7 separate regions of the Homo sapiens genome follow, and regions 1, 2, 4, 5, 6 and 7 are each linked to region 3. The links are contacts of gene promoters, found by promoter capture Hi-C in blood cells and fetal thymus (Javierre and others, 2016). All regions are on one chromosome and are shown on one strand. The core of a region is centred on a gene start or on the middle of the fragment in contact, and the rest is flanking DNA. Distances in the headings are between cores, read along the strand shown.

Region 1 (3,964 bases), core at 1,359-3,858, 370 kb before region 3:
TTGCCTACACTTGTGCCTTTCTACTACCATCTTGGTGAATTAGGTCACTATGTTCTACCCAGTCTTGGCTGAACACCCATGAGCACCCATTCAGAAGACTCAAATAGCTAGATTTTCTTTTTTAAATGTCTACTTCTTTTTAAAAAGTATTCTAAGAGAAGCCAGGCGTGGTGGCTCACACCTGTAATCCCAGCACTTTGGGAGGCCAAGGTGGGCGGATCACTCGAGGCCAGGAGTTTGAGACCAGCCTGGCCAACATGGCAAAACCCCATCTCTACTAAATATACAAAAATTAGCCGGGTGTGATGGCACATGCCTCTAATCTCAGCTGCTTGGGAGGCTGAGGCAGGAGAATTGCTTGAACCCCGGAGGCAGAGGTTGCATTGAGCCGAGATCGCGCCAATGCACTCCAGCCTAGGTGACAGAGTGAGACTCTGTCTCAAAAAATCTAAGAGAATAAGCATAAAAGTCAGTATACCATGGGTGAAATGTAGGACCTATCAGGGTTCCCAAATGTGGGCTGCAACATCAACAATGAGCACCTGAGGTGCTCATTAAAAATACATGTTCCTTGAGCCCACCCTAGACATTTTCAGAATCTCTTCCCTAGGGAGAATGGCCCAGGAATTTATATTTTAAAATAGGTACAGGTGATTCTAACGCAGACCAATTGGAAAACCTAGACGTATACAACTATCGGTTTACTAGAATAATAAATTAGTTACCATTATCTTCCTTCTTCAAAAATAGGAATTAACTGTTAATAAAATTAGAGTGTATACTTAGGCTCCACATTTCAGGTTTTTTTTTTTTTTTTGAGACGGAGTCTCGCTCTGTCACCCAGGCTGGAGTACTACTGGCGCAATCTCGGCTCAGTGCAACCTCTGTCTCCCCGGTTCAAGCGATTCTCCTGCCTCAGCCTCCCGAGTAGCTGGGATTACAGGTGCCCGCCACCAAGTCCAGCTAATTTTTGTATTTTTAGTGGAGACAGGGGTTTCACCATGTTGGCCAGGCTGGTCTCGAACTCCTGACCTCAGGTGATCCACTCCCAAAGTGCTGGGATTACAGGTGTGAGCCACTGCACCCGGCCCATTTTGGGTTTTAACAACTGGTTTCAATGATATCATGGGATTAATTAAAAAAAAAAATTGGCATCATCAGAATTCTCAACCAGTAGATGGCCCTTACCGATTATTAATATTGCTAGGGGAAAAATACTCAAGTTGCCCAAATGGGGAAAAAAGTACTTGCACTTGAAAAGCTGGTTATAAGAGAACAAATGTAATCAGAATCATATCTTCCCACTGATTTTCACTGTAATAATATGTTCTTATGAGTGTAAGTGCAGGCCCTAAAATTTAAGCAAAATTTTATCTAGGAATGTCAAATACATTTGAAGAAAATAAATGATTTTCTGATAAAAGTATAACTGCTAAAATCAATGAATAAAAAACTATACATAAGGGATATAAATTATACAAAGGGATAAATCTATGTAAAAGGTATATGTTCTGTTAACTATTAGAAGCTTTTAATATAGGAATTCTCTTTAAATGCAGTCCATAGTTGTCCATATAAGGCCCTTAACTTTTAAGCTAGATAAAATTGGTCTTGTGTACAACTTCGGAATTCCTTTTTTTCAAGTAACTCAAGGTTACTACAGTGGTTTTTTTCTAGAAATGTCTTTTTTACTGTTTACTTAATATCTTTTGTAAATGCTTTATGTAAATAATAGAAACTTGACTCTTCCATTTTATGCTGGTTTTGTAAAGTTTCCATAAAAGGTTAAAAAGTTCCATAATGCACTGTTTCCTTAAATGATATAGATTCCTGCATTGTACACTTCCATTAAACAAATACAATTTATAAAAATAAGTTTTAAAAAGAATAAATAACAAAATATATGTAACTTCGGAAATGACCGTCAATGAAATAAGATGTCTTTTTAACAAAGTGAAGTCCACAATTTAAACTGTACCTTGTGTGCATGGCCTTTGACATCAAAGAAGATTGTGAGGTTATGGTTTAGGCACTCTGCAACAGCTTCCCTTAGGGTAGGGATCTTTTCATCAGGGAAATCATTCCTGTAAGAGAAGAGAAAATACGTTGTAGGAAAAAAGAGAAACAGATAAACTGTATTGCAACAAACATTTTGCATATGTCTCTCAATCAAAAGGAAAGAGTGTTTTCTCCAACTTCCTTTTTTCGACCATAGCAAAGTCCAAAGATACTTTACTTTAAGATTTTTTTTTTTTTTTTTGAGACGGAGTCTTGCTCTGTTGCCCAGCCTGGAGTGCAGTGGTGCAATCTCAGCTCACTGGAACTACCAACTCCCAGGTTCAAGCAATTCTCCCGCCCCAGCCTCCCAAGTAGCTAGGACTACAGGCGTGTGACACCACGCCTGGCTAATTTTTTGTGTTTTTAGTAGAGGCGGGGTTTCACCATGGTGGCCAGGCTGGTCTTGAACTCCTGACCTCAAGTGATCTACCTGCCTTGGCCTCCCAAAGTGCTAGGATTACAGGTGTGAGCCACTGCGCCTGTCCTACTGTAATAATTTGAACCAAATTATAGATATTCTTTTTTCCACATTTTTATTGCTATACACTTAGACATATTTTTGTGATATGCGCATAATGTATAATGATAAAATCAGGGTATTTAGGATGTCCATCACCCCAAATATTTATCATTTCTTTGTGTTAGGAACATCTAAATCTCCTAGCTATTTTGAAATATACAACAGATTGTTAACTATAATCACTTTACTATGTTATTGAACACTAGAATTTATACCTTCTATCGAACTGTATGTTTGTACTCATTAACCAAATTCTCCTTATTCTCCTCTTCCCCCAACCCCAAACCCTTCCCAGCCTCTGGTAACTATCATTCTCCTCTCTACCTCCATGAGATCAACTTTTTTAGCTCCCATATATGAGTGACAACATGTAATATTTGCCTTTCTGTGCCTGGCTTATCTTATTTCATTTAACATAATACCTTCAGTTCCATCCATGTTGCTGTAAATGACAGGATATCATCCTTTTTTATGGCTAACTACATAGTATTCCATTGAGTATATTTACCACAGTTTATCCATTCATCCACTGATGAACACTTAGGTTGATTCTGTATCTTGGCTATTGTGAATAGTGTTGCAATAAACATGGGGGTGCAAGTATGCCTTTGATACACTAGTTTCCTTTCTTTTGGATAGATACCAACTAGTGGGATTACTGGATTGTATGGTAGTTCTATATTTTTAGTTTTTTGAGAAACCTCCATACTGTTTTCCATAATGGCTGTACTAATTTACATTCCCACCAACAGAATATAAGAGTTCCTTTTGCTCTGTATCCTCGCCAGCATCTGTTATTTTAAAAATCTTTTAAATAATGGCCATTCTAACTAGATAAGATGGTACTTCATTGTGGTTTTGATTTGCATTTCCCTAATAATTTGTGGTGTTTTTTCATATGCCTGTTGGCCATTTGTGTGTCCTCTTTTGAAAAATGTTTATTCAAATTAGGATTTGAATAGATGTTTTTAATGGGATTATTATTGTTTTTGCTGTTAAGTTCCTTGTATATTCTGGATATTAGTTACTTGTCTGTTGAATAGTTTGCAAATATTTTCTCCTATTCAACAGGTTTTCTTTTTACTCTGTTGATTATTTCCTTTGCTGTGCAGAAGCTTTTTAGTTTAATATAGTCACATTTGCCTGTTTTTGTTGCCTGTGCTTTTGAGGTCTTAGCCATAAAATCTTTGCCTAGATCAATGTCCCAGAGCTTTTCCCCTGTGTTTTCTTCTAGTAGTTTTATAGTTTCTGGTCTTAAATTTAAACTTTTAATCCATTTTGTGTTGATTTTTTAAATATAGTGAGAGATAGGGGTCTAGTTTCATTATCCTGCATATGGATATCCAGTTTACCCAGTACCAGTTATTGAAGAGAGTTCCTTTCCCC
Region 2 (4,194 bases), core at 289-2,788, 360 kb before region 3:
TCCCTGCTCAGTCTGAAAGTATCTCACTTATTCGCTTTCATGGAGTGGCTATCCTTTCTCCACTGGTAAACTTGCTTTGTTTTTAAATAGTTTTTTTCTGTAGTGAACAACTAAAACAGTTCGTGGAAAAACAAAAGAAAGGCTTATAAACATTTGAAGAGATGCCCTCATTCAGAATTAGAGAAATACAAATGAATTAGCATTTTTTACTTACTATTATAGATTGGCCAAGACCTAATAGAACTTTGTGTTCCTTAGATTGTGGAGAAAATGCACTTTTAATGCACTTTTGCTAAGAGAATCAGTTTATTTTATTTCTAGATGAGCAGTTTGGTAGAATTTAAAAGCATACATAGCCTTTGGGTCAGCAGTTCCATTTTTGGGTATATCCTACAATTATATGTGAGCCCAAAGAAATAAGTACAAAGTTACATTAGCATTGTTTAAAATAGCAAAGGTTGACGAACCACCTAAATGTCCATCAGTAGTGGAGTAGTTTAACTATGGTCTATTTTATAAACTCTCATACATACCATTACAGTAAGGCAGATGTAAATGTTGAGGCATGGAAGGATCTCAATGATCTAGTGTAAAACACCGTGTGCAGCATGCTGTCAGGGGCAGTATAGAGTCATGATTAGAGGTCCAGACTCTGGGCCAGGCACAGTGGCTCACACCTATAGTCCCAATGCTTTGAGAGACCGGAAGGAAGAGGATTGCTTGAGACCAGGAATTCAAGACTAGCCTGGTCAACATAGTGAGACCTCATCTCTATAAAAACATGTTAAAAAATTAGCCTGGCGCAGTGACATGTGCCTGTAGTCCCAGCTCTTCAAAGGCTAAGGCGGAAGGATCGCTTGAACCTAGGAGTTGCAGGCTGCAGTGAGTCAGGATTGCATCATTGCCTGGACTACAGAGAAAGACCCTATCCCAAAAGAAGGAAAAAAACTCCAGCCTGGGCTAACAGAGCAAGACCCTATCCCAAAAGAAGGAAAAAAAAAGTCTAGGCTGTGGAGCCTTCTGGCCTGGGTCCAAATCATTGCTTTGCTACTTACTTGCTGTGTAAACTTGTGGTCCATTTTCTTATTTGTTAAATGGGGATAAAATAGTGCCTACCTCATAAGGCTATTTTGAAGATTAAATGAATTCGTAGATATAAAATGGTTAGAATACCACCTGGATCATAAGAGGTACCCAATATAAGTTAACCATTTGGGTTTTTCAAAGGATGGCTATTCCTTTTCTGGGGAGTGGTGAGAGAATATAGGATAATAGGGAAGACACTTCATCATACACCCTTTGATACTAATTGGATATTTTAAAAATGCATATGACTTTATTTTAAATCACAAACTAATATTAGAAAAAAGTGAGCTTTAAATTTATTTTTTGGTATAACAGGAGTTAAGAGATTAATTTTAATTAATTGAATTGAATTTTTAAAGACACCAGAGCTAACTGCCAACTTTTTGTAATGAAACTTTCAAACATACAGCAAAGTTGAAAGGATAGTGCAGTGACCACCCATAGATTTACCATTAGATTAAATAATTTTTAACATTGTTGTCATCTTTGCTTTATTGTGTTTGTGATTTTTATATACATCTATGTGTGTGTGTACATATGACATTTTTAAAAATTGCCTAGCTATTTGAAAACCACGGAGACCTGACACTGCTCCCCTAAATATTTTGGTGTACATCTCTTAAAAATAAGGACATTCTCCTATGTAAAGCCCCAATACCATTATCACATCTTAAGAAAACTAATAATTTTTAATAATATCTAATAATTCTGTTCATATTTAAATTTTTCCATTTGTGCTCAAAATGCCTTTTATAACTTTATTCCCCCAATCTGGATCCAAAGTTCACAATTAGTATTTGCTTGTTATGTTTCTTTATTTTAATCTAAAATAGCTACTGTACGTCTTAAAAACAGTTTTTTTTATTGGTTGAGCATGGTGCCTCACGCCTATAATCCCAGCACTTTGGGAGGCTGAGGTGGGTGGATTGCATTGCTTGATCCCCAGAGTTTGAGACCAGTCAGGGCAACGTGGTGAAATCTCATCCCTACAAAAAATACAAAAAAGAGCTGGGTGTGGTGGCGCGCACCAGGAGTCTCAGCTGCTCTAGAGGCTGAGGTGGGAGGATCACCTGAGCCCGGGAGGCTGAGGCTGCGGTGAACCCTGATCATGCCACTGCACTCCAACCTGGGTGACAGAGTGAGATACTGTCTTTAAAAAAATAACAAAACTATGATACTGAATTTTTAAAGAGACCAGAGCTATTGTCTTGTAGAATTCCTTAGATCTTGGATTTGTCCCATTGTTTCCTAATAGTGTTATTTAACTTGTTTCTCTAGTCCCTGTAGTTCCTATGAACTGGAAGTGAAGTTTGATAAACAGGTTAAAGATTTTTGGAATTCTTTGAAGATAGGGCTGGGCGGGGTGGCTCATGCCTGTAATCCCAGCACTTTGGGAGGCTGAGACCAGCCTGGCCAACATGACGAAACCCCGTCTCTACTAAAAATACAAAAATTAGCTGGGCGTGGTGGTGGATGCCTGTAATCCCAGCTATGTGGGAGGCTGAGGCAGGAGGATCCCTTGAACCCAGGAGGCGAAGGTTGCAGTGAGCCAAGATCCACTGAACCCAGTAGGCAAAGGTAGTGAGCCGAGATCGAGCCACTGCACAACAGCCTGGGCAACAGAGTGAGACCCTCTCTCAAAAAAAAAAAATGTAATCCCAGCACTTTGGGAGCCCGAGATGGGTGTATCACTTGAGGTCAGGAGTTCGAGACCAGCCTGGCCAACATGGCGAAACCCCTTGTCTACTAAAAATATAAAAATTAGCTAGGCATGATGGTGGGTGCCTGTAATCCCAGCTGTGCGTTAGGCCGAGGCAGGAGAATCGCTTGAACCCAGGAGGGATCGGGATCGCACCACTGTACTCCAACCTGAGACTCCATCTCAAAAAAAAAAGGAATTCTTTGGAGATGATGCCCTGCACTTCATACTAAATTAAATCAGAAGTTACATAATGTTTAGTTGCCCTCTATTAGTGATGTTTAGTTTGAACACTTGCTTACAGTAGTGACTGCCAGATGGCTCTTTAAAGTACACATTTTCTCCTTTTGATTAGCAAGTAAATTGTATAATCATTCTTTGGTACCATGCAATTAGGAAAAAGTTTTAAAACAACATATTTATCAGCTATTTGATAACACATTGCTTGATTTAATGTGGACCAAAATGTCTGAGGCTTGTTGTGTAGGGTCTATGACTCCGTCTGTTATTTATTTATAAGCAAAATGTGATGTTTATGGACCTAATCCACACTTTTATGTTGTATTTGATAGGTGAATATTGCAACTTTTGAAATAATTTTTTAATGATATATTTTCTATTTGTGTAAGTCTACGATAAGTCTTGACTGTTAACAGTGATTTAATTTCCCAGGACTTAATAATTAAGATTGAAATCCATTATAAAGAGATACAATGCTTAGAAGCCTTCCATTTTTTAGGTACATTATATTTTTATCAGAAGGTAGAGTGAGGTGAAAGAAAAGATGTATTCTGCTTTTGTAGGCAAATAATATATTATCTGTTTATTTTATCATTAAACCTTTGGACATTTTTTGAGGCAGCAAAGAGTTAAATTGTGCACTGGTTAGAAAATTAAAAGTTGTAGAATCCAGTTGATCCAGTGAAATAAGATACTGAAGATGGGCCAGGCGCGGTGGCTCGCGCCTGTAATCCCAGCACTTTGGGAGGCCGAGGTGGGCAGATCACAAAGTCAGGAGTTCGAGACCAGCCTGACCAACATGGTGAAACCCCATCTCTACTAAAAATACAAAAATTAGCTGGGCGTGGTGGCACGCGCCTGTAAGCCCATCTACTCCGGAGGCTGAGGCAGGAGAATCGCTTGAACCCAGGAGGCGGAGGTTGCAGTGAGCCGAGATCGCACCACTGCACTCCAGCCTAGGTGACAGAGCAAGACTCCATCTCAAAAAAAAAAAAAAAAGGATACTGAATGTGAAGTAATATTCAAGTCAATATTCAAGTGAAGTAATAAAAAACTCAGCAGTGGCCAAAAGGGCCTTAATTTTATTTCTGTCATTTTAGAACATTTGATTAGTGAACAAACTTTTTTCTTTTTAACCTTTTAACTGAAAATAATTTACACATAGCAAA
Region 3 (3,910 bases), core at 430-2,929:
CCAGTTCTGTCCCTGGCACGTTTCTTGAAATAACATATTAATCCAGTAAAGATTCTGAGTTTATCTTTCTAACAAAACTGCCTGTCTTGCTGCCTGTGCCCCCAAATGGCGGCTCCTTCCTCCTGGAATCTCCTTCCCTTCCCAACTCAGCTGACCCCTTTCCAGGCTTAGAGCAGGGAGCAGATAGCAAACTGTTCACTCCACAGTCTTAGATACCAAACTGGCCGGGAGGGCTTCCAAACGACAGATGCCAATTTGCATTCTATTTACATGTCATTTGCATGCAGTTTAACTCAAAGCCTGGATCCTCCGCAAGCCCGAGTCCCCACCGAAGAAACTTCTGAATTAAGAAGGTTCCTTGGCTGAAGTGCCGGGGTTTTTGTGCCAGATCCCTCCCCCACTTCTCTTGTCTTTGCGGGGTCCCCCAGGGCTTTCTGGGCTCTGTTCAGGTGCCCCCCGGCCTGGTGCAGTTGGGCGGCCAATGTGGCGCGTGGGCTGGGGCCCCAGGCGGGGACGCCGCTGCCCGCCACACTCCAGGGGCCTTTGTCCGCGCTCCAAGGAGCCGCCCCCTTAGCGAACGGGGGACGGAAAGGGAGGACTGGCTAGGCCTGGGTGTGACAGAGCAAGGACGGAGGAGTGAACCCGCTGCACGGGGGAGATTTCTGGGGCAAGGTCGTTGGCCCCTTCCCAGGCTGTTCAACCGGCTGCCCGGGGCCAAGGCGGGTGCGGGCTCCTCCCGCGCGCTCCCTTTTCGGCCTAAGCGCTAGGGACCCCGGGATGTGTGGGGTCCTTGTGGGGCTGGAAGCCTGTGTCCCCCAAGGAGAGGGGACCGAGAACAGGTCTAGTCCTTATCTCCAGCCTAGCCGCCTCTTCCAGAGGTCCAAGTGCCCCCTGTCTGGAAGGGAAACGCCACTGCCCCCCCCGCCATTGTATGCAGCCGCCCCCTCCTCCCCACCCCTCCCCGTCATTCGTCCCCAGCCCAGGTCTCAGCTCTGCCATCTCCCACCGCCGTGTCCCCCCCTCCCCTTGCTGAGTAATGCGCACTCAAGCCGGCTGCGGGCTTGACCCCCAGCCCCCGCGACAGGTGCGGCTGTTCACCCCCAAAGTCCAGCCCTTGTGCCCCCGGCTGCGTCTGCCCTGTCCACAGTCAGCCCCCAACGCGGCCCCAGGACCAGCCCGCAGCTCCTCACACATGACGAGTCACTAGGACACGGCTGGGCTCCTTTACCCTCCCAGCTGCCCTTCACCTGTGGTCGCCCCCACACCCTCCTGGGAGACTTGGATCTCTACCTGGTCCGGGCACAGTCTCCCTCCCCCCGTAAAGGTCCCCAGATCCTCCCCTCCCCCGCCCACCCCTCTACGGCTCTGCTCTCGTCGCACCGTGGTTCCCCTCGCCCAGATTCCACATCTCCCCCAGCAATAAACTCCCTGGCTTGGGTTGGGGGGGCGCTTAGAAAAACACAAGAAGCGGACCCCCCAATTCTCCCAAATCCACGGCGGGAAAAGTTTCTGGGGTCCCCACAGCGTCCTCCACTGCATCGGCGCAGCTCGCACTTACCGACCCCCGCGGCCCCGCAGCGCCGACGCTCCAGCTGGCCTTCGGCCCGAGTCACATCTCTGCGGCGCGGCCGCGGCCCCCGCTCCACGCACGCCCGCCTGCGGGTCCAGCTTCACTGCAGCGCCTGCCAGAGTCGCTGCCGCGCGAGGCGCCCCCTGGCCCGGCCCGCGCTGCTGCAGCGGCCGCGGCCCCGCCCCCGCCCCCGCCCCCGGCCGGCCCCGCCCCCGGGCCTCCGAGCCCCACCCCCGGTCCCGCCGGCGGTTCCGCGCGGGGCTAGGCGCCGTCTGCATGCACCCCCGGAGCCCAAGCTCGTAGCTTCTAGCCCGGATCTCAGAGACGATTCCCCCGACCTCGTGCCCCCAATTCGGGGACATTCCCCCCACAACGTCAGTGCGCCCGTAAGCAGTCCAGACGAGCCGGGCAACTCCCCAGGGTAGATCCATTTGCGGGAACACTCCCCTAGCCAATACACTTACCGAGGGAGGTATCGCGACCCAGGGGTCCCAGCGCGGAAGCCTTCCTGCCCCCAGGCCACGCTCCAAGGGGGGTTCATAAGCAGTAACTTCCCCGAAACACACCAGCACCAGGTCCAGGACGCAGAGAGGATCGATCCCGCCCGGTGCCTCTCGAAGTCACCAACGCCCCGGTATACACCTAGGCGCACACACACCGCTAGGCCTCCTCCAGGCAGGTTCCTCCTGGACACACTCTTCTCTCTCCTCACTGCCCAACTCCCAGATGTCGTTGTCCGTTTACGCACACTGGGACCAACACCCGCTTCCTTGGCCCCTCGAAACACACACGTCCAGTCGGTGCACCCCTCACGTGGGTCCCTACGCAGGATCGCCACCACCCCTACCGCACACATCACCCACGTACGCACATGTCCACTGCCCTTCAGGGCTCACACACTCAGCGGCCCGGGCCACTGGCCGTGCGCTCCGCAGACGGTCAGGGCACAGCCCGGACGCGTGTCCGCTGGGCGGCCGTGGGACCTGCTTGAAGGAGGGGTCCGGGGCAGCCGTCTCTGAGTCCCCCTCACCCCGTCCTAGTCCTCAGGCCTCTCCGAGGTCGCATTGCTTCGACCAGGCCTGGGAGCTGCGCTCCGGCACCCCATATGGGGCTGGTTCCCTGGGTGACCTTCAGACCATCAAACCCTGGCAGTCTCAGGTGGCCCCCCGCCAAAGCCAGAAACAGACCTTTGAGCAGCATCCCTTCCCTGCACTCCAGATTCTCAGGGTGAGATTTCCTTTCTCCCTCCGCGGTGCGCCCCCCAATCTCTACCCCCGTCGCCGCAACCATCCCAGCCACATAAGACCAAAAGGGATAGGACGGACCCCTGCTCCCCTCTCCCGGGGGCTGCAGGAAGGGGAGATGCAGAACACCTCCTTCTGGGAATAGTGGCAGCCCCTGATCTTTGGGGACCGTGGCCCTTCCAGATACTCCCATCCCTCCCTGCCAGCCTCCCAGTTCCGGTCCGGTTAGGCCACATCCCCCTTGGGCACGCATCTCTGGGATACCTTTTATTATATTCAAGGGAAAATGGAAAGGAAGAACCATAATGGCAGTTTTTCGCCCCACTCCTGGTTTATTTGCATGGATCCTCAGAGCCCAGAACAGTTCCAGGCACAGTAGGCGCTCATTAAATGTTTGCGGGACGACCCAAAGTGTGTTCCCGCCAGACTGCGCAATTGGAAAGTGGATGGGCACTGTCACCTGGTGGCAGCTCTTGGAACTGACGCCGAGATCCTTTTGTCAACGTGGGCAAGTTCACTTTCGTGAGCCACATGTCCTCAACGTCTGCAAAATGGAGATCTTTTTCATCGCACATGCCTATTGGGGTTGTTGTGAAGGTCTAACACGTGCTAACATATAAAGTGCTTCACGCAGGGTCTGGCATGTGGAAAATCCTTAATATGAGCTGATTAACATTGCAGTTACGGTTATATTCCCTTTCCCACTTGTTTTACAGAGGACCCTGACTGTGATGGTCAGTTTCACTTTGGGTGATGATACCACAGGGAGCACAGAGTGAAAATGAAGGAGGACATTGAGTGGCAGGTGCATTCCTTCCCTCCAAAAAGTTCAAACACCCATGGATGATAATAATAACAATAATAGCTGAGTACATAGTGCTTTCTGTGTGCCAGGAGCTATTCTAAGTGTTTTAAATTCTTTAATTCATTTAATCCTCCCAGTTACCCTTTAGGCCAGAGACTGTTATTCTCCCTGTTTTACAGATGGAGACACTGAGGCCAAGAGGGGTTAAGTACTGCCCCGGGGTTAGACGGTTGGCAAAGACAAAATCCAATCCAGGCCATCTGGCTCTGCAGGCCATATTATCCACCAATG
Region 4 (3,688 bases), core at 1,181-3,680, 300 kb before region 3:
ATAATTTTAGCACTTACATTTAGGTCAATGGTTCATTTTGAATTACTTTTTATATATCCTATAAGGTAAGGATCTAAATAATTTTTTTGCATGTGGAGCTACAGTTGTCTCAGCAACGTTTGTTGAAAAGACTATTGTATTAGTCCATTCTTGCATTGCTATAAAGAACTACCTGAGACTGGGTAATTTATGAAGAAAAGAGGTGTAATTGACTCACAGTTCTGCAGGCTGTATAGGAAGCATGGCTGCGGAGTCCTCAGGAAACTTAAAATCGTGGCAGAAGGCAAAGGGGAAGCAGGTACATCTTTCCATAGCAGAGCAGGAGAGAGAAAGAGAGAGAGAGAGAGAGAACAGGGAGGTGACACAGGTTTTCAGACAACCAGATCTCATGAGAACTGTCTGACAGGAACAGCAAGGGGGAAGTCTGCCCTCATGGTTCAGTTACCTCCCACCAGCCCTTTCCTCCAACACTGGGGATTACAATTCGACATGAGATTTGGGTGGGAACACAGAGCCAAACCATGTTAACTATGTTTTTCTCTACTGAGATCTTGGCACTTTTGTTAAAAATCAATTGACCAAGGCTGGGCGTGGTGGCTCATGCCTGTAATCCCAGCACTTTGGGAGGCTGAGGTGGGCGGATCAGCTGAGGTCGGGAGTTTAAGACCAGCCTGACCAACATGGAGAAACCCTGTCTCTACTAAAAATACAGAATTAGCTGTGTGTGGTGGTGCATGCCTGAAATCCCAGCTACTTGATACTCAAGGTTGAGGCAGGAGAATCACTTGAACCCAGGAGGCGGAGGTTGCGGTGAGCCAAGATCGTGCCATTGCACTCCAGCCTGGGCAACAAGAGTGAAACTCCGTCTCAAAAAAAAAAAAAAAAATTAATTGACCACTGGTGGCAAATTCAGACTACTTAAAAAACAAAAAAACAAAAATCAATCGACCATAAATGTAAGAGTTTATTTCTGGACTCTCACTGTCATTCTGTTGATCCATAAGTCAATCCTTATGCCAGTTCCACATTGTCTTTTTTTTTTTTTTTTTTTTGAGACACAGTCTTGCTCTGTCACCAAGGCTGGAGTGCAGTGGCGTGATCTCTGCTCACTGCAACCTCTGCCTCTCAGGTTCAAGCGATTTTCATACCTCAGCCTCCCCAGTAGCTGGGATTATAGGTGTGCACCACCACACCTAGCTAATTTTTGTATTTTTAGTAGAGGTGGGGTTTCACCATGTTGGCCAGGGTGGTCTCGAACTCCTGACCTCGAGTGATCCACCCACCTCGGCCTCCCAAAGTGCTGGGATTAAAGGCATGAGCCACTGCGCCTGGCCAGTTCCACATTGTTTTGATTACTATGGCATTATAGCAAGTTTGAAACTGGGTAATATAAGTATGTATGTATGTATGTATGTATGTATGTATTTATTTATTGAGACAGAGTCTTGCTCTGTTGTCCAGGCTGGAGTGCAGTGGCATCATCTTGGCTCGGCTCACTGAAACCTTCACCTCCCAGATTCAAGCGATTCTCCCACCTCAGCCTCCCGAGTAGCTTGGATTACGGGCATCTGCCACCATGCCCGGCTGATTTTTGTATTTTTAGTAGAGATGGGGTTTCACCGTGTTGGCCAGGCTGGTCTCAATTCAAACTCCTGACCTCAGGTGATCCACCCACCTTGCCCCCCGCAAAGTGCTGGGATTAAGGCATGAGCCACCACGCCTGGCCTGGGTGGTGTAAGTCTTTTAACTTTTTTTTTCTTCTTCTTTTTTTAAATTATTTTCACTGTTCTGGGCCCTTTGCATTTCTGTATGAATTTTAGGATCAGCTTGTCAATTTTTACAAAATAAAAAAAACCTTCTGGGATTCTGACAGGTATTGCATTGAGTATGAAATCATTTTCTGATGCATAAATTTTGCCATCTGTTGATGAGCATCTGGCTCTGTTCTTTTTTCACTACATGGACAATGTCACTGTGAGCACGTTTGGTCACGTCTGCTGGTGCCCATGTAAAGCTTTTCTCTAGATAAGAGCCTATACCTAAGAGTAGAACTGCTCTGTGCCTCTTCAGCTTTTCCAGATAATGCTAAGTTATTTTCCATAGTAGCTGTGCCAGCATACGCTTGTAGTAGTATGTGGGCGTGTGAGAGTCTGTGCTATTCAACATTCTACCACCATTTGGTATGAGCAGATTTTCTATTTTAATTTTTCCAGTCATATTTTCTTGTGGTTTTAATTTGCAGTTCCTCGATTACTAATAAAAATGAGCATCTTTTCACATATTTATAGGCCTTTGGGGTTTCCTTTTCTGTAAAATGACCTTTGCTGATTTCTTTTGCCCATTTTTCCATTTTGTTATCTGTGTTTTTCGTACTGAGTTTTGCAATTTTTAAGATGTATTCTGGATAGTAATGGTCTACTTCTTTCCTTCCTACTCAGGTCATCTTTGAATGTATGCATTTGTTGTGGCTATTCAAATTTTTTTAACCTTTTTTCTGAGACAGATTCTTGCTCTGTCTTCCAGACTGGAGTGCAGTGGGGCGGTCTCGGCTCACTGCAACTTCTGCTTCCCTCGCTCAAGTGATTCTCCCACCTCAGCCTCCTGAGTAGTTAGGGCTACAGGCACACACCACCATGCCTGGATAATTTTTGTATTTTTTGTAGAAACTGGGGTCTCACTACATTGCCCAAGCTGGTCTTAAACTCCTGGGCCCAGGCGATCTTCCTGCCTCAGCCTCCCAAAGTGCTGGGATTACAGGCATGAGCCACCATGCCCAGCTGGGATTTGTATTGTTAACACATACCTGGGTTACCTGATTCTTATCAGACAAGTTTAGGAAGCGGCACCAAAGCTTTAAAAACTGTGGCATCTTCAAAACAGTAATTTAAAAAGTAACTTCAATTTATAAGATCATTATAGCTTTAACTTTGGATTAAAAACAAAATCTTATTCCTGTTGTCCTTTATAAAATATATGTTCTATGAAACCAGCTTGGGAGAAAATCAATGCACAGATGTTTGGGAAGCCCCAGCTGTGTTTAATTTGAAATCCTCTGTTTAAATTCTCTCTCTCTCACCTCACCAGTGGGCAGTAACTCATCTCTGAGAGACTGTCCAAGCCCAGCTCTGGGTAGAACTCAGAGATGTCACATCCCTAGGAACCGAGAACTGTGTATTGTAAACAGTCTCTGAGATTTGGAGTTGTTAGCTTTTTCCAGCCTTGAAATCTCATGGGGGCAGCTGTTTAAGTTGGAACTCTCACAAAGGGCATATGAAAATCGCAGAGCGAGGTGTCAGGAAATGGAATTCCACATACATCCAGTTGCCACGTTTGGTGTCAGCACTATTGTTTTTACAGCTTACATTCCCGCCCCGCCCCCCCCCCCCCCCCCACAAATAACATTTGGGCTGTAAGGGGATGTTTCGCAAATCAGACACGTTGTTTACTTTTAGGCCTGTAATGCTATGGAGAAACTTGGTGACTCTAACAATTTAGATGTTGGGTAACAACACCAAACTGAAAACACATGTCAACCTATCTCTTGACATGGTGAACGTTCTCACCATTCTCTGCATATTGGAATTGCATATTAAATAATCCTTTCTAAATGTCTGAACATCTTTTTTTTAATTTTTAAATGACATTTTTCTTTCTGAGGGTCAACCATTGAGGTGATGAAGTGTGGCAG
Region 5 (4,003 bases), core at 903-3,402, 500 kb after region 3:
CCATTCTTGCCTTTGCCCATGATCTCCACAGCTTTGCCCAGCTCTTCCGCCAAGTTCCTGGATTGCTTTGAGGATGGGTTGTCTGAAAGAGTATGAAGACAAAATTTGAGAGGCCTTTCCTCGCTCCCCATCTCCAACAGTAGATTATTTGTTGGGCCTGCTTAGCTCCCGGAACCTTTCTTGTGCTCAGCGGTTAATGGCTGAATTTTCATAAATGTGACAAGATGTGAGACACAATGGTTCATGAAATTAGACAATCTGGGAGATGTCTATCAAGGTTCTTTGGATTCAGTAGCATTGGAAACAACACAACCATGGGCAACTTTACTCCATCTCTCTGAGCTCCACTTCTCTTGTGTAAAGTGGGTGAAAATAATAGTGGTTACTTCAAGGAATCGTCAGAGTTAAATGAGATTTATGTCACAACCAGCTATAATTGCTTATTGTTTTCTAAGAGTTTTACGTGCATTAAGCCATTTACTCCTCTCTATAACTCTGTGGGATAGGTATTATTATTATCTCAATTTTATACATGAGGAAGCTGAAGCACAACAAATGACTTACTTGCGCAAAGCCCTGTGACAGTGAGAGGTAAGGCCAGGATAAGAGCCCATTCTGTCTGGCTGTAGAGTTCTTTTCTAATCTCCACTAGGCATGTAAACCACTTGGTATAATGCCTGGCACAAGTTAAGTACATGCTGCGTTCTTATTACTGCTTCCATTATTATAGTAAAATTTCTGTGGTCAAAGCAGGACCCAAGCAATGATTACACAAAGGCATGCAGAGTGGTATAATGGACATTGGAGACTCAGATGCGGGGAGGCTGGGTGCAGGGTGAGGGATCAAAAAAAACTGCATATTGGGTAGAAAGAACATGACTAAGGTGATGGGTGCACTAAAATCTCAGACCTCACCTCTACACAATTCATCCCTGTAACCAAAAGCCACTTGTACCCCCAAAGCTATTGAAATAAACAAAAACAAACCACTCAATAGCATAGACACGATGATCACATTTATGGAATTGTTAAAAAGTGTATGCCCAGGGCAAAAGAAGTCTAGAGGGAAATTTTCCAAACTATTAAAATTTTTTGTTTTAAAAAAATTCTGTGGTCAGAAATTATGGAGACAGAGAGGAAGCATGAGAGCTCATGAGCGCCATCTGGTGGAACGTCCTGGAGCTAACAGGCCAAATTGAGCCCCTGCAGTTGCCCTGCATGTAATTGGACAGGGGACTTTCGCAGGTAAGGAAAACCAGGTGTGGGGAGGGCGGGGATAGGGGAGGTTGTGGTGTTCCCCTGAGTCCACCCTCTTGTCTCGAAGAGACCTGGAACTCTCCATTAAGAGATCTGATCTGGACGCCTTGGCCCCTCACGTTGCTGGGCAGTGGGGAGGGACTGGGGAAGCCCTTTTCTGGAAGCGGTATCAGGGAGCTGGCACGTGACCTTGGCAGTGCAAGAGGCTTTTCTGGCTAAACGGAGGGGACTAAAAGGCGCCCAAGTGTGCCTTTCTTCCTCCTGATAACATTGTGAGGCTGCAGGTTCCTCGCTACCCCATGACTGAGGAAGGGGGGCTGAGCCAGGGCAGGGGGTCATTGATTGCCTTTCAAGCCAGAACATTTTATCTTTTTCACTGCCGCCCACCCCCGTGGTCCATCTGGAGCACTTGGAGAAAGTGCAAATGACCTCTGCTGCAGAGGGCAAGTTCCAAGTCCAACAGAGAGGTCTTTTGTAAAGTGCCGCTCAGAAAGCAGGGCCCCGGGACAGCTGGCGAGGGCCCCGTTGCTGGTCAGCACGCCTGCTCCTGCAATGGGATCGGAAAGTGAATGATCGCTTTCATTAAACTCCCGGTCAATGGACCGGAAGCGGGGACTTTGTGCCTCCCTCCTGGATCGATGCCCCTCCACTGCCTGCTTTGTCACCGTCATCGCCTTCGATATCCCCTGATATCCCCTATCCATCATCACCAGCATGCACTGGCCAATTGCTGGCTGCTCTGGTCCATGGGGCTCTCCCCGGCTTCCTCGTGGATGTGGCCATGCTGGGCTCAGGATTGCTGATTGACATAGAATCCGAATCTGAGTTTCTGAGGGCGGAAGCTCAGGGCAAGAGAAACACTTGGAATGATTGTCCAGATGGTAAAGCAAATTTTAGAGGTTCCACACACAACCCAGTGCCCCTGGGTGTCTGAAATGGAAGTGACAGAGAGAGCTTGTGGCAACCGGAGTGCTGGGGTCTGAGAGCTAGATTGATGGGGCCTATGATAATAGTAATGGAGATTCATTCATTCGTTTTATGCATTCATTCATTTATTCATTCATACAATGAAACTTTTAGGATATGCCATGTGCCAGGCACTGTCCTAGGGATTGGGGATATAACAGTGAACAGATAAAAACCCCTGCTGTCACTTGAAAAGGCAGAAAATAAGCAGAATAACAAAGTAAAATATGTGCTGTGTTAGATAATATGTGCTTTGGAAAAGAACAGGAGAGTTGGAGGTTGGGAGTATTAGGGAAATTGCAAGTTTAAGTAGGAGGCTAAAGATGGCAATGTTTTAATAAAGATGGAAAGAAATGAGAGCGCAAGCCATGTAGACATCTAGCAGGAGAGAATTCCTGGTAAAGGGCCAGTGTATGCAAAGGCCCTGAGGTGGGGCATGTGTGACATGTTCAAGGTATGACAAGAAGTCCATTGGGTCTGGAGCAGAGTGAGCTGGGGCCAGGGGACAGGTGATGTAGGGTCTCGCAAGCCACTGAATAGACTTTGACTTTTCCCAGAATATGGAATGGTACCAGAGGGTTTGGAGCAGAGGTGGAGGTGATCTGAGTTACTCTTTTTCTTTTCTTTTTTCTTTTTTCTTTTTTTTTTAGACGGATCTTGTTCTGTCACCCAGGTTGGAGTACAGTGGCACCATCTTGGCTTACTGCAACCTCCACCTCCCGGGTTCAAGTGATTCTCCTGCCTTGGCCTCCTGAGTAGCTGGGATTACAGGCATGCACCACCAGGCCCTGCTAATATTTGTATTTTTAGTAGAGATGGGGTTTTACCATGCTGGCCAGGCTGGTCTTGAACTCCTGTCCTTAGGTGGTGATCTGAGCTACTTTTTAACTGGATTTCTCTGAATATTATATGGAGATTAGACAAAAAGGGAAAGAGAAAGGATGCAGGTAGACCAGTCGGAGGCTACTACAGTAATCCAGGCAAGAGATGGTGATGGCTTTGGGCCAGGAGAGTGGTAATGGAGGGGCTGAGAAGTGATTCCATTCTAGAGAGATTTGGGAGGAGGAGTTTGGATATGGAACATGGTGAAAGAGAAGAGTCAAGGGTGTCTCTGAGGTTTTTATCTGAGTGACATAGGATTATGTAGGATCTTCTATGGAAAGATGATGATGATGTCACTATCATCGCCATAATGATGATGATATTGATGGCGATGTTGATAATGAGAATAGTAATAATAACAACACGTATTGATCCCTTACTGTGCTAAGTACTTGCTTAGTGTTCCATGCATTACCCTGGTTAATCTTCAGAACAATCCTGTGAGTTATCTGTGATTACAAGCAGGAATATCACAGATAAGGAAATGGAAACCCAGAGGTCTTACAGCTAGTATGCAGTTAGGCTGAGAGTCAACTCGAAGGCTGACTGGCTCCAAGGTTCATGCTCTAAATGACCAAATTGGCCAGCTGGTCTGAAAAATCTTTTTCTTGGAGCAGATTAATGGGGGCATGTTTTTCATTTCTTCTGTTCCAGGTGGTTCCCATCAGAGCAGAGACAACCTACACAGCCAACGCCACTCTTTAAAATTTAGAGTCCGATTTTCTGGCTTCTTTCTTTAAAAATTTTGTAAATTGGGCCAGGCGTGGTGACTCCACGCCTGTAATCCCAGCACTTTGGGAAGCCAAGGTGGGCAGACCACCTGAGGTCAGGAGTTTGAGACCAGCCTGACCAACATGGAGAAACCCCGTCTCTACAAAAAATACAAAATTAGCCTGGC
Region 6 (3,991 bases), core at 416-2,915, 320 kb before region 3:
TGTAGTCCCAGCTACTCAGGAGACGGAGGCAGGAAGATTGCTTGTGCCCAGGATGTCGAGGGTACAGTGAACCGTGATCACACCATTGCACTCCAGGCTTAGTGACAAAGCGAGACCCTGTCTCCAAAAAAAAAAAAAAAAGACATCTTCACTTCAGAAACTCCAACTTCGCTACACATTGGGAGTTCCCATGCCTCCCTCCCTCATGTTCAATAATTTGCTATAGTGGCTCACAGAACTAGGGAAACATTTACTTATACTTACCAGTTTATTATTTAGTATTTACTTGTACTTAACAGTTTATTATTAAGGATATTACAAAGAATACAGATGAACAGCCAGATGAAGAGCTACGTAGGGTGAGGCCCAGGGGAAGGGGCACACAGAGCTTTCATGTCCCCTCCAGGTACCTCGATGTGTTCTTGTTCACCTACCTGGAAGCTCTTCAAACCGCCCCCCCCTTTTTTTTTTTTGAGACAGGGTCTCACTGTATCGCCCAGCTGGAGTGCAATGGCACATTCTCAGCTCACTGCAACCTCTGCCTCCCAAAACCCCATTTTTCATGTTTTTTTTTTTTTGAGGCATCGTTGCATAGGCATGATTGATTATTCATTCGGTCTCCAGCCCTCTCACCTTCCCGAAGGATGGGGAATGGGGCTGAAAGCTCCAATCTTCTAATCATGGCTTGGTCTTTCTGGTGACCAGACCCCATCCTGAAGCTCTGCAGGAGCCCATCGGGAGTCACCTTATTAGGACAAAAGATGCTCCTATCACCCAGGAAATCTCCTAGGGTATTAGGAGCTCTGTGGGAGGAACTGGGGGCAGAGACCACATAAATTTAACAGCTTGGAGTGCAGTGGTGCGATCTCGGCTCACTGCAACCTCCACCTCCTGGGCTCCAGCCATCCTCCCACTTCAGCCTTCTGAGTAGCTGGGACCACAGGCATGTACCACCACACCTGGATTATTTTCATATCTTTTGTAGAGATAGGACTTCACCATGTTGCCCAGGCTGGTCTCAAACTCCTGGCTTCAAGTGATCCTTCTGCCTCAGCACCACAAAGTGTTGGGATACAGGCATGAGCCACTGCACCCAGTAGAAAACTTAACTTTTATGAGGTGTTCAAGGGAGAAAGGCAAAAAAAAAGTACCTGGTTAAAGTAGAAATTCCCTACTTAGATGTTAGTTGTTGGTTTTGATTGGTAGTCTCTAGTTAGTGGGTAGTTGGCGATTTGCAACTGATTAAGCTTAAGTTCCATTTTGCTACTTATATTGAGTTGGATTTTGGTTTGCTACATAGGGAACCCCAGGTGCTGTAGCCATCTCAGTCCAGTGACCTCTCAATTAATTTTTTTAACACTTCCTAACCCTAACTTCCTACTTTCCCTTCCTTGACAGTTGTGATCCTGAGTCATGTCCATTTGTCACAAAAACTAAGCATCCCCTGCAGATGGTTAAGTCTCTGCTGCAAATGAACCATCCATTCAACTACCAGAATGGGAGGAAAGTACCCACTGGAGTGTTTCACTGGAGAGAGTTGTGGGAGTTCCGTTTTACCTCCAGAAATTTTCCTCACAGGTCACAGAGTCAAAGACAAAGAAAGTGAACCGGAAAGGAAGCACTTCTTCCACGTCCTCCTCCTCCTCCAGCTCCGTGGTGGACCCGCTGAGCAGCGTCCTCGATGGGACTGACCCCCTCTCCATGTTTGCAGCCACTGCTGACCCCGCAGCCTTGGCAGCTGCCATGGTAATGCACCCCAGCCATGGTCGTCCAGTGGGGGTTGGTTTTGTGGGTGCAGGAATGGGTGGTTTTCTTGTGCCCTGCCCTTTTTTTTCCCCTGAGAGACAGAGTCTCACTCTGTCACCCAGGCTGGAGTGCAGTGGTGTGGTCATGGCTCACTGCAGCCTCCAACTCCGGGGCTCAAGCAATTCTCCCACCTCACCCTCCTGAATAGCTGGGATTATAGGTACACACTACTGTGCCGGGTTAATTTTTTATTTTGTTGTAGAGGTGGGGTCTTGCTGTGTTGCCCAGGGTGGTCTTGTACTCCAAGCCTCAAGCGATCCTCCCACCTGAGCCTCCTAAAGCTTCTTCCCCTTTTTTAAGTTGCACAAGTAATGCACACGGTACCTTCTGGTCAGGTCATCCTGACATGAGAGGCTGGTGTAGCTCTGTGAAGTCTTTTTGTTTTTTTGTTTGAAAGCATTTTAAAATTTATTTTTATTTTTTAATTTAATATTTTTTTCAGACAGCCTTGCTGTGTCACCCAAACTGGAGTGCAGTGGTGCAATCTCACTGCAGCCTCCGACTCCGGGTTCAAGCAATTCTCTCACCTCAGCCTGCCAAATTGCTGGGACAGGCATGCACCACCATGCCCAGCTAATTTTTGTGTTTTTTGGTAGAGATGGGCTTTCATCATGTTGACCAGGCTGGTCTTGAACTCTTGACCTCAAGTGATCCACCTGCCTCAACCTCCCAAAGCACTGGGATTACAGGCGTGAGCCACTGCACCTGGCTCTTAAAATTTATTTTTAATTTTAATTTTATTCTTCTTATAAATCTTTTTACATAATACATAAGTAAATCACTCATTTTGATGTGAAAAAGTCAGACACTACAGATAAAGTCATGTAGAGCAATCCTCATTCCAATCTCCACCCTGGCGGTTGTGAGAATGATGGCTGTAATGTGTCTTCTTCCATAGCTTTTCCCCTGTATTTTCATAGATACTTGCGATAGCAGTTTCTGAGCATTCCCATACGTACTCATATATAAATAATTACAGCATCAACTTACTGCATGGCAGGCATTTTTCCGGAGTGCGTTTTGTATTTGGTTCTCTTACTACCTTGTGAGAGGTATTGGAATCCTCATTAAAGAGGCAGCCATGGAGGGATAGAGATAACAAGTCACATCCAAGCTGGGATTCAAACCTGGCCAGTCTGACTTCAGAATACATGCTCTCGATCATCATCCTATGCTGTGTTTCATATATATATATATATATATATATATATATATATATATATATATATATATATATATTTTTGAGATGAAGTCTCACACTGTCACCCGGGCCGGTGTGAAGTGGGGTGATCTCGACTCGCAGCCTCCACCTCCCAGGTTCAAGCGATTCTCCTGCCTCAGCCTTCCGAGTGGCTGGGACTACAGGCACGTGCCACCATGCCCAGCTAATTTTTGTATTTTAGTAGAGACGGGGTTTCACTATATTGGCCAGGCTGGTCTCGAACGCCTGACCTCGTGATCCACCCACCTCGGCCTCCCAAAGTGCTGCAATTACAGGCGTAAGCCACTGTGCCCGGCCTGTGTTTCATATATTATTTACCATTGTTACATAAATGGAACTGCTGTTTTGTGACTTGTTTTTTTGGAGATAGTCTTGCTCTTTTGCCTAGGCTGGACTGCAGTGGCATGATCATAGCTCGCTGCAGCCTTAAAGTCCTGGGCTCGAACAATCCCCCTGCCTCAGCCTCTCGAGCAGCTGGGACTTCAGGTGTGTGCCACCGCACTCAGCTAATTTTGGATTTTTTGGTAGAGTTGGGGTCTCACTGTGTTGCCAAAGCTGGTCTCAAACTCCTGGGCACAAGCAATCCTCCTGCCTTGGCCTACCAGAGTTGCTGGGATTACAGGCCTGAGCCACTGCACCCCACAACTTTTTTTTTTAATTTATTTTATTTTATTTTATTTTATTTTTTTGAGACGGAGTCTCATTCTGTTGCCCAGGCTGGAGTGCAGTGGCGCGATCTTGGCTCACTGTGACCTCTGTCTCCTGGGTTCAAGTGATTCTCCTGCCTCAGCCTACCTAGTAGCTGGGATTACAGGCATGTGCCACCACACCTGGCTAATTTTTGTATTTTTTGTAGAGACAAGGTTTCGTCACATTGGCCAGGCTGGTCTCGAACTCCTAACCTCAGGTGATCTGCCCACATTGGCCTCCCAAAGTGCTGGGATTACAAGTTTGAGCCATGCC
Region 7 (3,878 bases), core at 1,123-3,622, 340 kb before region 3:
TTCTTCCCTTCTCTAAATACATTATGTCCTTATTTTTATATTGTGTTAGAGCTGCTGAAATGGGAATGCCAAATAAGAAATTTCTGGTTAAACAAAATCCTTCTGAAACAAGGTGAGAAAAATCACTTAGTCTTAATGAGAGGCTTTTTGTTTTTTATAGAAAAAAAAAATTGGCTGGGCACGGTGGCTCACGCCTGTAATCCCAGAACTTTGGGAGGCCAAGACGGATGGATCACCTGAGGTCGGGAGTTTGAGACCAGCCTGACCAACATGGAAAACCCCATCTCTACTAAAAATACAAAATTAGCTGGGTGTGGTGGCACATGCCTGTAATCCCAGCTACTCAAGAGGCTGAGGCAGGAGAATCGCTTGAACCCGGGAGGCAGAGGTTGCAGTGAGCCAAGATTGCTCCATTGCACTCCAGCCTGGGCAACAAGAGTGAAACTCTATCTCAAAAAAAAAAAAAAAAAAAGTTAAAAAATTAAAATTTAAATCCCAAACTTCATTTTTGTTGACTTTGTTCTACTTGACATCAGTAGAGCACTTCTTGCTGAATTGGGTCGGGGGTCGTCCTCAGGCTCAAGATTCATACCAATACCTGGCCATATACCTAGTCACATGTCAGACCAGATGTGCCCGGACCTTTTGTAGGACATGCTATCTGTGGTAGAAATTTTGAGCGTGGTATGTCTTGAGTTCAGTTAGACAGTCCAGAGGATCTTTGATACTTATTTAAAAACCTTAGAAAGCTAATTTAAGCTGGGCTGGGAGCAGTGGCTCATGCTTGTTATCCTAGCAGTCTGGGAGGGTGAGGTGGGTGGATCACGAGGTCAGGAGTTCAAGACCAGCCTGGCCAAGATGGTGAAATCCTGTCTCTATTAAAAATACAAAAATAAAAGATACAAAAAGCCGGGTATGATGGCGCGTGCCTGCTCAGCTACTCAGGAGGCTGAGGCAGGAGAATTGTTTGAACCTGGGAGGCGGAGGTTGCAGTGAGCCGAGACTGCACCACTGTACTCCATCCTGGGCGACAGAGCAAGGGTCCGTCTCAAAAAAAAGCTAACTTAAGCTGGGCACAGTGGCATGCTCCTATGGTCCCAGGTACTCGGGAGGCTGAGGCAGGAGGATAGCTTAAGCCCAGAAATTCAAACCAGTATGGGTAACATAGTAAGACCCATCTCAAAAAAATAAATAAATAAAAAATAAAGCTAAAAAGCGAACTTTAATATTTCTGACCTGTTTTTTACTCCTGTAAAATGAGAGTGATACTTTCTTCTCTCACTGGTTTGAAGGGAAAAGTTAGCTTTTGTAAAGCATATGTATAAGAAAATTATCTAAAAGCACAAGGGTTAGTCTATATGTTGGACATTTCTTTGCTGATAAAAACCTAAGGTTTGGACTCTTAGTGAGCAAAATACAAGTATCATATTAATATGCTTTAGTCGATTTGCTCTGATTTGTGGTAATATATAGGCCATATTATTGCATAGTTGACCTTTACCTTACAGTCATCATCTTTCATCCGTTGAAAGAAAATGGGAAAAAATGGAATTTAACCTATTAAATTAATTTTTCATTTAATTTGTCAACAGAGTCCTTCAGCCAAACCAAGGACAGAATGCACCTGTTCATAGGCTACTTAGTAGACAAGGGTAAGAATGCCACACACGGGTATTGAAAACTACGGAAACCAAGATTAGATTTGAGAGGGAAAAATAAATCTAGTGTTCTTTATGTAAAGGATAATGGTTTTTCAATGGGATTTTTTTTCTTTATAGCATTGGGAAAGATATTTTAAAGTTTTGTCTTCAAATGTAACCCTCTTGGTGTACTGTTGTGTATTCTAATTACTGTCTTAAGTTGGGATGTTTTTACTTTTCATTTCATACCATTTTACTCATAAAGTATTTTAAATATCCATATAGTAAATTCAGCATCACCGAAGTGATTCTCCAACAGAGTATGACTCGTGCTTATAGTCTCCTGCTGAAGCCAGAGTTTAGCTTTCCTTACTGTGCGCATGCATGAGACTTCAGTTCTTTTCAAGCTTATTTGTGCTTTGGACAGTTGATGCAATGTGATTGCTTTCTTTGAATTTTGAACATTTAGACCTTAATGCCAGTGACTTATTAATTTTTTTATATTCAATTAGAACCCCTAAGACATCAGTGAAGGGGGTTGTGCAAAATAGACAGAAGCCTTCACAGAGCAGAGTGCCTAACAGAGTGCCTGTTTCAGGTTTGTAGAAAATAAATTCCTGAAGCCCATTCAATAGAAGGAAGTGCACAAGCTGCCCCATAACTCAGGCCATAGAAGTGGAATAGATTGTCTTTCCTTGCCACCATAATTTTGGCATATTCACAGTCATCTTATTAGTGTTCTTTGGTCTTAGCATTGTATGGCAGTCAGGAAGTCTTAGTAAAAGTGTGATTCCAGTCTTCATTTCTATAATATTTCTGTGGAAAGCACCTTGTATTTTTCATTCTGAAAAAATTGTAGAATTTGCCATGCTTAATTCAGAAAACCTTTTTATTTAATGAATAAAAGATAACGATCATCTCTGGTGCTAAGTCTGTGCATTGTCTGTTCAGCTTGGGGAAGTGTATCTGCACATAAGGGGATAAACTTTCTCCCTCAGACTATAAGATCACATGTGAATATGCCAGTGGGAGGAGGGCTTCATATTTTGCTCAGTCCAAAGCTTGAGCTAAATCTCTCCTTATGTTCATTATTTGAGGATTAAGAGCTAAACTAAAAACTGTATTTTAAAATTCTGTTTATGGTGGCAAGAAGACAAACTCATTCTTGAGCAAATTCAAAGCTCTTAACCAAATGCTTTAATATTTTTTAGGTATCTTTGTTAAGACACTTTGATTAAGCTCACTTAAAAATTATGTGATCCATTTAAAAATACTTTCCAAATGTTGTGCTTTAACTATACTGCTTTCTAGACATTTACAACAAACCTAAATTAATCACCAGGCATTGAAGATTAAACCTTTAATCAATTTTAATCTTTCCATTAATATACAATTAGGCAAATTTTAGAGCTTTATTACTAAGTGATTTCCTTCAAATTAGGAGGGAACAAGCTATTGGTCGTAACTTTGAAATGATGGCTGACCTTTTGTATGTATGTAGTGAAGGTAATTCATAGTGTCACACATATATAGGATAATTTAAAAGATCATCTTTGGAAATCATTGTGAGTGACAGTTAATGGAATTGTCTTAAAGGATTACATAGCTGAAGATACTGTTTACTCCAGAGGCAGTCAGAATAAGCTAGTTTGAAAGATAACCATTTGAAAGGACTCAGACCAAACACCAAACCTGTGGAATTTTAAGACATTTTCTGTTTTTCTCATGTTAGTATTCTATATTGCACTGAAACTTAGCAAGTTGGAAAATCATTGAGGAATTAGTATTGTTTTGCCTGATACCAATTTGCCACAGTGACTACTCTCCATGTTCTTTTCTCATGCATTTCATCTCCACTATTTGTCACTTGTGAACTTATAAGCAAAATAGCAAGTACTGTTTTTATTCAGCAATACTCAACAGTATAAAGGATGTATAGTCAGTCACTGAAGTTAGTAACATACAATGAAGTTCATTATTTTGAACTATTGAGGTTAAATTGCATTGCAACATACTTATTAATACAAATGAACTTAACCCTTGAATTAATATGTATCTAAACAAGTACAAAAGTCTGTTGCTGTTGTTTTCTAAAGATTTACTTATACATGAGTGCATATTTAGACAATTGAAAGAAACTAAATAATTGTGTTCTTTTTTTTTTTTTGAGACAGAGTCTTGTTCTGTTGCCCAGGCTGGAGTGCATTGGTGTGATCTTGGCTCACTGCAATCTCCACC

The links. The method cuts DNA at HindIII sites, captures the fragments that hold promoters and counts their contacts. A CHiCAGO score of 5 or more calls a contact.
Region 1: a fragment that was not itself captured here is called in contact with the fragment with the promoter of GPRC5B in region 3 in 1 of 17 cell types (total CD8 T cells); the score reaches 5.9 in total CD8 T cells.
Region 2: a contact is called between a fragment that was not itself captured here and the fragment with the promoter of GPRC5B in region 3, in 4 of 17 cell types (naive CD8 T cells, total CD4 T cells, monocytes and 1 more). The highest score is 6.8, in naive CD8 T cells.
Region 4: a contact is called between a fragment that was not itself captured here and the fragment with the promoter of GPRC5B in region 3, in 16 of 17 cell types (naive CD8 T cells, total CD4 T cells, naive CD4 T cells and 13 more). The highest score is 18.9, in naive CD8 T cells.
Region 5: a fragment that was not itself captured here is called in contact with the fragment with the promoter of GPRC5B in region 3 in 1 of 17 cell types (M2 macrophages); the score reaches 5.4 in M2 macrophages.
Region 6: a fragment that was not itself captured here is called in contact with the fragment with the promoter of GPRC5B in region 3 in 16 of 17 cell types (activated CD4 T cells, total CD8 T cells, naive CD8 T cells and 13 more); the score reaches 17.6 in activated CD4 T cells.
Region 7: a fragment that was not itself captured here is called in contact with the fragment with the promoter of GPRC5B in region 3 in 9 of 17 cell types (total CD8 T cells, naive CD8 T cells, total CD4 T cells and 6 more); the score reaches 10.6 in total CD8 T cells.

The regions. Positions count from the first base shown.
Region 1 is chr16:19,508,861-19,512,824 of GRCh38, forward strand. It overlaps GDE1 (glycerophosphodiester phosphodiesterase 1), which reads right to left. Exons shown (of 6, transcript NM_016641.4): 3 at 1,979-2,084. Among named protein-coding and RNA genes, the nearest start is that of GDE1, 11 kb to the right of the region's middle. The HindIII fragment of the contact is 2,165 bases long and covers 1,527-3,691 here.
Region 2 is chr16:19,527,958-19,532,151 of GRCh38, forward strand. CCP110 (centriolar coiled-coil protein 110) reads left to right here. Exons shown (of 14, transcript NM_001323572.2): 2 at 1-65. Among named protein-coding and RNA genes, the nearest start is that of CCP110, 6.1 kb to the left of the region's middle. The HindIII fragment of the contact is 6,012 bases long and covers 1-4,194 here.
Region 3 is chr16:19,883,169-19,887,078 of GRCh38, forward strand. It overlaps GPRC5B (G protein-coupled receptor class C group 5 member B), which reads right to left and starts at 1,680. Exons shown (of 4, transcript NM_016235.3): 1 at 1,559-1,680. RefSeq lists an enhancer at 1-423 and a silencer at 1,939-2,233. The HindIII fragment of the contact is 5,537 bases long and covers 1-3,910 here.
Region 4 is chr16:19,586,766-19,590,453 of GRCh38, forward strand. The region is part of intron 7 of VPS35L (VPS35 endosomal protein sorting factor like); the gene reads left to right. Among named protein-coding and RNA genes, the nearest start is that of VPS35L, 33 kb to the left of the region's middle. The HindIII fragment of the contact is 837 bases long and covers 2,013-2,849 here.
Region 5 is chr16:20,384,770-20,388,772 of GRCh38, forward strand. PDILT (protein disulfide isomerase like, testis expressed) reads right to left here. Exons shown (of 12, transcript NM_174924.2): 3 at 1-82. Among named protein-coding and RNA genes, the nearest start is that of PDILT, 18 kb to the right of the region's middle. RefSeq lists an enhancer at 1,754-2,287. The HindIII fragment of the contact is 7,710 bases long and covers 1-4,003 here.
Region 6 is chr16:19,567,846-19,571,836 of GRCh38, forward strand. It overlaps VPS35L (VPS35 endosomal protein sorting factor like), which reads left to right. Exons shown (of 31, transcript NM_020314.7): 3 at 1,579-1,746. Among named protein-coding and RNA genes, the nearest start is that of VPS35L, 14 kb to the left of the region's middle. The HindIII fragment of the contact is 840 bases long and covers 1,246-2,085 here.
Region 7 is chr16:19,546,363-19,550,240 of GRCh38, forward strand. It overlaps CCP110 (centriolar coiled-coil protein 110), which reads left to right. Exons shown (of 14, transcript NM_001323572.2): 12 at 50-112; 13 at 1,593-1,652. Among named protein-coding and RNA genes, the nearest start is that of VPS35L, 7.4 kb to the right of the region's middle. The HindIII fragment of the contact is 654 bases long and covers 2,046-2,699 here.